Linked DNA regions of Homo sapiens: region 2 is linked to region 1. Evidence: promoter capture Hi-C in 16 types of primary human blood cells and fetal thymus (Javierre and others, 2016). All regions are on one chromosome and are shown on one strand. The core of a region is centred on a gene start or on the middle of the fragment in contact, and the rest is flanking DNA. Distances in the headings are between cores, read along the strand shown.

Region 1 (5,626 bases), core at 1,680-4,179:
AAGCATTCTATGTTTGCTGGCTAGCATTTTCACTTGCTATTATTATTATTAAGCCATGGAAATGTACCACCGTCCTGAAGAACTTTACAGAAATGACTCCTAAAGGAAAGCTGGGTGATAATGAAGAAACGTTCCCCGACAGGAAGTCACATATAACCAGGACGCAAAGTTAAAAGAATCAGGTGAGTGGCTTCCTGTTATTTGCAGGGATATGAGCTTCAAATACCCAGAACCAGAAATTGGCCTGAAGGACCCATTCTGCACTGCCCTTATTACCAGCTTTTGAACATTTCTAATTAATACCAATACAGAGCAGATTAAATTTGCTGCAAAATTAAGTTAGCGATCACCACGTGCGGCAAGGCCATAGCTAGACCGTTTTTTACCCACGCTGTTGGGTGGGTGTGCTGCCCTCACAGTGTTCCAGAGGCCTTGCTGAGGGGTGCAGCCAGTGAAGCCACTGCAAGGATGGGCCACCACAGCACGCCGCCTGAGGACAGCTTTATTTATGCTCTTGCAGAATGTACAAGTGGGCCTTGTTTTTCTGGACGGCTAGGGAGCACACTGGCTCACATAGCGTCCATGGTTCCACATTTAGAGTTGTGTCTTCATTCACATTCTTTCCATGCAGCTCACAGCTCCTGGACTGGATGACAGTGGTCACTTTGCCTGGGCCAGTCCCCCGGACAGATGCCAGCTCTGGGCCATGCAGACCCTGAGCTTGGGCTCAGTTTTTGGTCTGGAGCTTGGGCTCAGTTCTGCGGCTGTGTTTCTGGCTGGGGATGGTCTGCATCAGGATACCCGCTGTAACTGACACAGACATAGAGTCTATTACACAGGGCAGGTGGGGGAACATCCAGGAGAAATTAGATTCTGCAGGTGTCAGCTATGCTCAGGCTTGCTGGTTGGAGCCTCCAGCCAAGCTCTGAGGGCTGCCTGCTCCTAGGACAGGCTCTTGCTGGGTCAACTGTGTTTTATTATTCTCTCCCTACCCCTCCTGCTGATGTCATTGACAAAGCTACCCGCCAGTGCCCGGCCCCCGGAACATTCCCCAGCCATCCCACGGTGCTCTTTCCTCAATCAGCCACTTCAAGCAAACACCATTCGCTCCTGCTGCAGAGCAAAGCTTGCTGTTTCTAGGATCCTAAACAAGACATGAGGTCATGCTCTCCACCTGTGAAGAATGAAACGTAAGCTGGGGAAGGAAGGTGCTGAGGAGGGGAGGAAAGCAAATTAGGAAGACCAGCGGCCCTGCCGAAGCTTTCAGCTCATGTTACTCACACCCCAAAGCAAACTCCTCCATAAAATGAGGTTTAGTAATGCAACATTTTCTAACATCTGGAACAAAATGATTTGGGTCAAACAGATGACATATGAACTGACTGTAAATTTGTTTCAATGTGTACTGGGAGGGAGGGAAATTAACAAATATGTCAAATCCATGATCTATTAAGTATTGTTGTTTTCCATAAAGTTCTTCTGTTCAAGAAAAAAAGCAAGTCAATTTAAATTTTCTTTAAAGGAAAATAGTAAGTAAATGTTGATACAGATGGTTGAGGTGTAGCAAAAATCATGGGAAAAAATAACAAATAAATGACTAACATTTTGGGAAGCTTTGCAATAGACGAGCATATTCATGTACATGAGCTCCCCTGACCCTGAATCCCACAGAGCACAGGCATTCTCTCCACTTTAGAGATGGGTAAACTGAGGCTCAGGAAGGGTAAGTATGTGACATGTCAACTGACCAGGAAATAATGGAGCCAGGGCTCAAAATCCTGTGTACTTTTTAAATGTTGGCTCCCATCTCAAGTTGATGGCTTTTGTCTGACCTTTTGGCATGCGTTTGTTTTGGCAAATGGGGAGGTAGGGAGGTGGGTGGGTAAAATTGAGGGGTTCACTTTGGGCCTCCCTCAAAGCATCTCTGAGTGCGGAGCAGCAAGTAATCATCCCCACAGCGAGGTTCTGAAGCTCTCAGGGCAAAAGGCAAGTCTTGAGGCTCCCAGGAGGAGGCGGGTCTGAATGCTCCTGCTGGTTGGAATCTCACACCTTAGTCTGCAGGGCAAGGAGGAGCTGTTCTTTGTGACTTGGTTTAGACAAAAGTACATAGACCTGGGTCCCTGTGGCCCTGGCTGTCAGCCGGTTCAAGGCTGGAGGTGGTGCCAGGCCCCAGCTTGGGGCTGGGACACAGGTTGCTGCCCTTGAAGAGCCCACAGGGGCAGAAGGGACAGTCTACAAATAGACCCAAAGACACAGCACACTGCAAACTTGCAGAGGCTTTGAGCGCTGCACAGAGCAGGACACCCAGCGGGGGCCAGTCATCTCCGCTTTCTCAGGCCACAGTCAGGGAAGCATAAAAAAGAACCTTGGAGAGAAAGGGGGAAAAAAACCCACTCTTGCATTAAATCCTGGTAGCAAGCAGACTATCCTAGGGCCAGCTTGGGAGAGTAAGGAAGGCACTCTGGGAGCTGGCATGGCACAAGCCAAGGAAAAGCCAGTGGAAAAAGTTGGGGGATCTGTGGGCAGTTTGGGGAGCAGGTGACCCCAGCCTGAGACAGAAAGCAGCCATTGGGAAGGCAGGCATGAGCCCACCTCAGGGTTGAAGGGAGGCCAGCCCTTCCCAGAGGTGGAGAGGGGAGCCTGGCAGAACGGGACTTGTCCACTGGTGCTTGGACTTTGCAAACAACCGGGCTTGCTGTAGCCAAGCTTACCAAGTGGACACTTACCTTGCCTCTTCCCCGATTATTTCATATCCTTCTGTAACTCTCACCCTGAGACCCAGCCTGGCCTTCCCCTAGCTGCAGATTATTCTGCTCCAAAAGCACAGCAGAGGACGGCTCCTTACTCGAGGAATGCGGGCGGCGGTCGTCCAGAGCCGATGATGAAACGGGCTATTTCTGCCCCGGGACATCAGCAGGGCTCTGGGCTCTGGCTCCAAGGCACACACTCTCCTGTTTTTAATGTTTCCCTAAACAAATGTTTTCCTTCCCACCTCGGGATATTTTTATTTGACTCTAGGTGCTGGAATAGCTTTAGCAATCATTCTGGATTGAAGTTGGAATCGTGGTTAGGGTCCGGCTAAGCGGCAAGCAATTTCTCACTCCCCAAGTGATCTGTTACTCGTGGCTGATTTGGAAGTAAAAATAGCAGCTGAGGCTGTTTGTTTAATCTGACTGTTACTTGACACCACGCGGGTGTTGCAGTGCGGACTGTTTGCCTCTTCCCCACCAAGAACACCATTTGGTTTCCCCCGGCTGGGTCTCTATTTAGGTAAGCTTCGCGGACTTCCCGTGTCTGGCCGGCTTCTGGTCACTGATCTTCCTCAGGTGGGTAGGTTTGTGAGCTAGAGGAGGCTTGGGTCCTGAATCCACTCTCCTATCACCTTTGGGCAGCCTGGATAAAGAGGAAAGAAGTCTTGGCTGCTGGGCAGAGCCGGGTTTCTCTCCCATTCCCGAGGAGGCCTGAGCAGCTGGACACGCAGAGAGCGGAAGGTACAGCCCAGACACTTGTCTGGCTCCTTAGCGTGGGCAGGGAGGCTCAAGTTCATGGCGGGAGGGATGTTCCCGCTGGGCCGATGCTGTGCTGGGGAAGTAGTTCGGTGCCAGGGTGCTGTGCAGGGTGGTATGTGTGTGCCGGGAGCCCATTGGTGTTGGGGCTAAGGTTCTTGGTGTGCTGGATGGGCCTCGGGGACCACGTACCCGGAACCGTGTACATGTGTGACTTTGTCCTTAGGTGTCATCTGTCAGGGATCTCTGCTCCCACATGGCTGAGTGCACAGATGTGCCCAGGCCACTGCGCTGTCAAATGGGTGACCCCATGGTCCCAGGTTTTCAGCATTCAGGGCTGAGGGAGGCTGGCTTTCTTAGCTCCCCCAGCGCTGGGCCAGGCAGGGTCACACCAGCTGTAACAAAGAGAAAAACTGGTGACTGAGACGTTCTGGCCTGTGGGCTCTGCGAGCATGTGTGTCCCCAAAACAAAGCCCGCCACAGGCTGCCTGTTCTTACACACCCTGGGAGGGCCCCCACCAGACTCCCACAGGGTATGCTTGACTGAGTCTAAAATTACCTCTTTTATTTTCTGGTGGAGAAGAATTGAACATTGAGAACGGCAGTGGTCAATGTGTGTGGAAAGCTAGATAGCCTTAAGAAAAATCATTGTGTAGGCCTTTCAGGTAGCTCCCTAAGTATAGGAACCTGGGAAGCAGATTAAACAGATGTGTGTAGTAAATGAGGTCCTGTTTTCCAGCATTTGAGTTCCCTTTGCAGTAGTGGCTGGTAACTCTGGTCTGTGGTCTGAGCATCTGGTTTTGTAAATAAAGTTGTATTGGCACACAGCCACCTTCATTCATTTGCATATTGTCTAAAGCTGCTTCTACACTATATCAGCAGAAACCATATGGCCTGCAAAACTGAAAACGCTTACAATGTGGCCCTTTACAGAAAAAGTTTGCTGACCACTGTGTTACAAGAACACATCTTGAGATGGGTCAATTTAATACAAAAAAAAAAAAAAAAAAAGCAGTGAAAGTTCTTGCTGTTAGAATAGTTTGTAAGCCAGACCCTTCAGGACCAGTGGCTGGCTGGCTCCTGAGCCTCCTGCACCTTCCAGGGCCCACTTTTTAGGCCTGGCTGATACAGGAAATGTCCAGTTTGCTGTCACGGTGCTGGGAGGGTTAGCTTAGCAGTAGAATCACCAGACACACAGCGTGTCCATGTGGCCTGGGCTGAGCAGGGCAGATTGTGCTTATCGGGGTGATTTATAAATAGCCTTCCCCGGGTGACCCAAGTCCAACACACATCTGCCCCTGGGTCTCTGGGAACAAGTTTGTCTGCTCTTGGATGACCAGAAGCTCACTGGGAAGGGAACAACTGTGTGCGGTGGGTAAGAAGGGGGCTGGTAGAATGCTGTGTCCTGGAGCAGAGGGGCTTAGGTCTCCTGGAACCTGGGGAGAGAAAGCTGTTGAGAGTAGACAGGAAGGCCAGAGATGGCCTTGCATCCTCCCACCTTGATTTCTTTTTGCCAGGACAGAAGTAAGTGTCTTTGTCTTTTCCTGACCCTAAGGAAGCCCTGGAGACCCTTACTGAAGAGGGGAGGCCTCATGTCTTGAAATAGCCCTATTCCTCCAGTCTCTGCCAGAAATCTCAAGAACCCAAGCCTGCTGGTGGCACCAGAACTGGGCCGTCTTCCTCATTGGCTCTTGGGATTTTACTCCATATGCCCTGGGTTACTGGAGGGAAGCAAAGGGCTTTGAGAGAAGGCCACGCTACAGGGGCACACAGGGCTGCTGCTCCCCAACAGGGTCCATCGAGGCTGGAGTGGATTTTGGTTTTATTTCCATTTGAGAGTTTAAACCTCATTTCACAAAATCCAGCCAGTCCATAGTCTTTATCTCAATCATATGCTTCATTTAGTTAATTGGAAAAATCTCAGACACCCCCTCATTTCTACTTGGTTTCCAAGGGTTGCATGGCATGAGCTAGTGGATGGGACAGAGCGGGAAGGACAAGGGATCAGTGGAGGCCTATCAAGACCCAAACATGGAGCATGTAGAGCACATGCTGATGTTCAGATGTGTCACCCCCAATTTAAGTCATTGGTATCACTCTGGAACATTCCCTGGAAGGGG
Region 2 (5,072 bases), core at 196-2,695, 760 kb before region 1:
ACTGCAATTATAATGCTGTGCTAATTAGCTATTGTTAAATAGCTGTAAATTAATTTAAATACATTGACTTATAATAAATTTTTTAATTTAAACTAATTTATAGCCTTTACCAATAACTAACCATGTGCCAAGCAACACGTTTAACATCCTACATGGAACTACTTTTGTCACGGCCATTTTTCAAATAAGGAGCCTGAAGTTTACAGGGTTCTGTGACTCGCTCTGGACCTCAGATCTGGGGAGAGGCTGAGCCGTGATTGAAACTCAGACAGTAAGACTGAGCACCTCACCCTTAACCATGACCCCACAGGACAAATAATTAAGAGTGTCAAATAAGTCAGCCAATACATAATAACCATCATTTTCTAGCCATCTTTGCTTTTGAGTTTATTATGTGCACTAGTACACACAGACTCTAACCCCATAGAGATCAGGCAGGTAAGATAAACTGAAAAAGCAGCTTTTGCTCTTGCTGCCCAGGCTGGAGTGCAATGGCACAATCTCGGCTCATCACAACCTCCACCTCCAGGGTTCATTCTCCTGCCTCAGCCTCCCGAGTAGCTGGGATTACAGGCATGCGCCACTGTGCCTGGCTAATTTTGTATTTTTAGTAGAGACGGGGTTTCTCCATGTTGGTCAGGCTGGTCTCGAACTCCTGACCTCAAGTGATCCTCCCGCCTTGGCCTCCCAAAGTCCTGGGATTATAGGTGTGAGCCACCATGCCCTGCCAGCTCCTGTCAATTCTTTATATGGAGGAAGCAGGCCCAAATTTACCCTATAGAAATCTATATATTTTTAGTGGGTAAAATCCTGTGCATTGAAAATATTGCATGAGCCAAACAAAATATGTCTGTGAGCCAGAATCAGCCCATGGGTAGTCAGCCCTGGCTTGCAGCTCAGTTTGCAGCCTGAGAACTAGACTCCATTTCTTGTTATTGTTGCCTCTCCCAACCATGACTTTTAGCATTCTTTCTGCTTTTGGATGATTGCTCCTTCATTGGTTTAATTTATCACGCACTTTTAAAGAACCAGGCACCTTAAAAGCAGCGCTTTGGAGCAAAACAACATCAAGGCTACTCAACCCCGGACTAGGAGTTCTTGAGGGAGGGGATCACATCTCAGGATCTCCTAGTCCAGGGTTGGGTAGGCTTGATGTTGTTTTGCTTGAAAGTGCTGCTTCTCCAATTTTAAGATGCACACAGAGCACCCAGGACAAACTGCAAGAACACAGATTCTGTTTGAGGTGGCATGGGTGGGGCCCCAGGGTCTGTATTTCCACCAAGCTCCCAGGTGATGCTGATGCAGCTGGCCCATGGACCACACGTGCATAGGAAGAACCTACTCTGGGGAGCAGCCTATGTCTCAGAGGGTTCCTGAGCTGACAGTTGGAGGAGGCTCTGTACTTGGGTTTGGTTTCTCAGAGGTGACCTGGGTCATTCAACCCCCACCTACTAATCCCCTGCCACATTCCTCCCCACATCCTAATTTATCTAGGGATTTAGTCTAGCTGAGATCACTCATAAAGAATTTTATCTACATCTTTGTTCTGCGCTGGCACAAGCATACCTCCTCCTGCGCATCACCCCTTCCTGCCCGGTGCGCTATCACCATCTGAGGGACTTCTGTGCACATCCTTCTGTGTCTCTGTGTCACAGAACCGTGGTGCCCAGCACCAGCCTGATCTTCTTGAGCCTCCTGCTAAGAGCATGACCCTGCTGAGAGTCAGCCTGGAGTCTAGATCCATGCAGCTAGCCCGCTGCAGGACAGGCGGCATCCTGGAGCCCCCAAAGGCAATGGAAGTGTCCCCCTGTGTAGAACAGGCTGTGGGGTCAGGCAGGCAGGCAGAGTGTCACACTAAAGAGAGAGGCTGGGCCAGTGCACTGGAGTATAGACCATGTTATGCACCCAGGAAGCCAAGCTGGTCCAGGCAGGCAGTCCTATTGGTGGGACACTAAAGGCACCTTCCAGTTGGCATCATTCAAGAGATGTGGCTGAAGTTTGATCACCTAATTGGGACCCTGGCCTCGATCTGCAAGGATGAAGGTGCAGGCCACCCTCCAAGGGTGACATTACCTATTGAGCTCCATGGGGGGAGTTCAGTTAAAGGCCCCTTTGCCGTATTGGATCAGGAAGAGCCACCTGTGAAGTGTATGCTGGAGCCTTGCTATCAGCAGGTTGGACAGGAGAAGGCTGTAGGGCAGGGGCCGGGTGCTGGAGGGAAGAGCATGGCACGAGAATGTGGTGGGAGCTGTGCATGCCCAGCCCTTGGAGAAGCCACTTTCCCTCTCTGGATGTCAAGTTTATGAATGAGATGAGGACCATGATAAGATGTGCACCAAACTCACTCAGGACTTGAGCTCTGAGGGCCAGTGCATTTGCAGGAAGAGACCAGCAAGGAATGTTCGAAGGTTGTACCCACAGGATGGAGCCCAGCAGGTCAGAACAGAGGGCCACTTCCTGCATTTAAATTCAGAAACTCATTGTCAGGGCCAGTTTCATGGCCTTTAACTAGGGCATGTGCTCAGTGACACCCTTGCCTCTTGAAGGGCTCTGCATTTAGAATTGAATGCTCTGTGGTTAGTGTCTTGAAATTCTTAATCATTCTATCTTTAAATTTGTGTTTTTTAAGTGAAGTCGAGTGGGCCAGTGGAGCGTATGCTGAGGGCTGGGGCCCTTCTGCAGTCCTGCCTCCTGCTGCCTCTGCCTCCGCCTCCTGTGAGTGGGTTTTCCTGGCTCCCTCCTGCCTCCTGATTCCCAGGCCTCTGCCCCGCCTCTCCTGGCCCTGCCCAGTGGCTATTGCTGTCTTCCCCTCATGCCCAGTGGAGGCCTGACCACAGGCATGAGGAGGGCTGGGGTTGGGGTCAGGCACCCCAGAGTGTTTTGGGGTGGAGTATGCTCAGGGTCGGCAGTGCCAGTGCCACAGGGTGGGTATCTTTGTGGGGATGGGTCTGTTGCCCATCCCCAATCCAGGTGCCTAGTGCATGGCAGAGTGGAGGCTGAACACCCTTGGGGGTGGCCTGTCCACTGCAGGTGGGGTAGCAGGCTGTCGGAAGAGGAGCTGCCTGGCTGGACTTCCTTGCCCAGGTTGGTGTCTGTATGTAGAAAGGAAGGCTCCATAGGAGAGCTGGGGAGGCTGAGCCCAGGAGTCATCTCCCTATTGGTGCCCATTTTCAGTACACCCTCAGCAGAGCAGCACGGTCCTAGTGACTGGTGGGAGAGGGACCTGGCTGCTGGTGGGCATGTATGGAGCAACTTGGGGGCCCCTGGGTGTCTGTGAGGGTCTGTTCTCACCCCTTGAGTATCCATGTGCCCAAGGGGACACACCAGCTAAATATCAACTAAAAAACATGGTGCAGGGGCTAGCCCTAGGCCCGCACAGAGATGTGCAGCCCTTCACATCCATTTGTGTGGCCATTGAGCCCCGCAGAGTCCTCCTTCCATCACAGTGGAGAAGCTCAGAGCTGCAGGGAAGCGGGGTGGCCTCCAGGCTCCTCACTGCCTTGGGGACAGCCCTCCTGAGCACAGTGCCCAGAATCAAACACAGTCCAGGGACATCTCTCTGCATCCCAGATTCACACCACCCTGAGCACAGCCTCAGGGCCCCTGCTTCTGGGGTGGCTCACCCACTCTGCTCAGGACCAGCTAGAGAATTTTTGGGGACTCAAGGCAAAAATAAACATGTCCTGTATTTAAAAAAAGGAAAAAAAGTGCCATTAAAGGGATTAAGTATAAAGTTTTTTTTCTTTTTTCTGCTGTCTCTTGACCTGTCAGTGAGTAGTTCTCAGACCAGCAGCACCAGTATTGTCCAGAGTTCATTAGAAATGCAGATTCCTTGACTCACTCCAGGCCTCTGGAGCCAGGGAAGGGCCAGCAGCCTGGGGGATTCTGATGCACCAGGAAATTTGAGAAGCACAGCTGTAAAGCGATGATTATTAGATTTTTTGTTTGTTTTAAAGCAACACAACTAAAAAATTAAAATCTCATTGGAAGCTTGTTTGTCTATGACAGATAAAAGAAGAACTGAAAAAAAAAGAGAGAGGCTGGGCGTGGTGGCTCATGTCTGTAATCCCAGCACTTTGAGAGGCCAAGGTGGGCCGATTGCCTGAGGTCAGGAGTTCGAGACCAGTCTGGCCAACATGGTGAAACCCCGTCTCTACTAAAAATACAAAGAAATTAGCCGGACATGGTGGTGTGCACCTGTAATCCCAGCTACTTGGGAGGCTGAGGCAGGGAATTGCTTGAACCAGGGAGGTGGAGGTTGCAGTGAGCCAAGATCGTGCCACTGCACTCCGGCCTGGGTGACAGAACAAGACTCCGTCAAAAAAAAAAAAGAGAAAGGACTGGGTGGGGTCAGGGGAGAAACTGTCCTGCCGTCTGCATATCGTACTTCACATGATGATTACAGCTGTCTTGCCAAGTAGGCAGTTTCCCTTCTACGATCAGATGATGAAAATGAAGCCCATGGGATTTAAGTTATTGGTCCAGGTTCTTTTATTGAGCAAATGGCAGAGCTCAAATGTGAATCTAGCTCTGTCTTACTCCAAGTCTGAGGCTCCCACCCCCTCCCCATCCCTGCCGTTCTTTCTTTGTTCATCCTTCCTTCTTTCTCTTTCTCCCCTTGCTTCTTTCATTTTTGCCTGTAGAGCACCTGTTCTATGCTGGTGTTCTCATCTAGGCCTGTGCTGTCCAATACGGTGCCACCACACATGTGGGTCCTGAGCATGTGAATGAAGCAGGTGTGCCTGAGCAATGGAATTGTCAATTTAATTTAATTTACATTAGTTTAAAAACTGACATTCAGTTCCATTGCTGAAAAACATTTAAGTATGTTTGGAATAACTTGGGTATGTGACTCTACTTTTCAATCATACATTTTATGAAATCTAAATGCCGATCAAAGATGGCTATAGTTAATTAATATATTACATAATTTCAAATAGGAGGACAGTGAATGCTCGCAACACAAATAAATGGTAAATGCTTGAGATGGTGGATATGCTAATCACCCTAATCTGATCACTGTACAATATATGTATCAAAACATCACTATGTACCCCATGAATATGTACAAT

The links. The method cuts DNA at HindIII sites, captures the fragments that hold promoters and counts their contacts. A CHiCAGO score of 5 or more calls a contact.
Region 2: a contact is called between a fragment that was not itself captured here and the fragment with the promoter of C10orf71-AS1 in region 1, in 1 of 17 cell types (neutrophils). The highest score is 5.2, in neutrophils.

What each region holds. Positions count from the first base shown.
Region 1 is chr10:49,295,964-49,301,589 of GRCh38, forward strand. It overlaps C10orf71-AS1 (C10orf71 antisense RNA 1), which reads right to left and starts at 2,930. Exons shown (of 2, transcript NR_108038.1): 1 at 2,727-2,930; 2 at 320-810. It overlaps C10orf71 (chromosome 10 open reading frame 71), which reads left to right and starts at 3,207. Exons shown (of 3, transcript NM_001135196.2): 1 at 3,207-3,270. RefSeq lists a silencer at 1,083-1,260. The HindIII fragment of the contact is 569 bases long and covers 2,705-3,273 here.
Region 2 is chr10:48,539,802-48,544,873 of GRCh38, forward strand. The region is part of intron 3 of ARHGAP22 (Rho GTPase activating protein 22); the gene reads right to left. Among named protein-coding and RNA genes, the nearest start is that of ARHGAP22-IT1, 31 kb to the left of the region's middle. RefSeq lists an enhancer at 3,153-3,938. The HindIII fragment of the contact is 5,085 bases long and covers 1-3,988 here.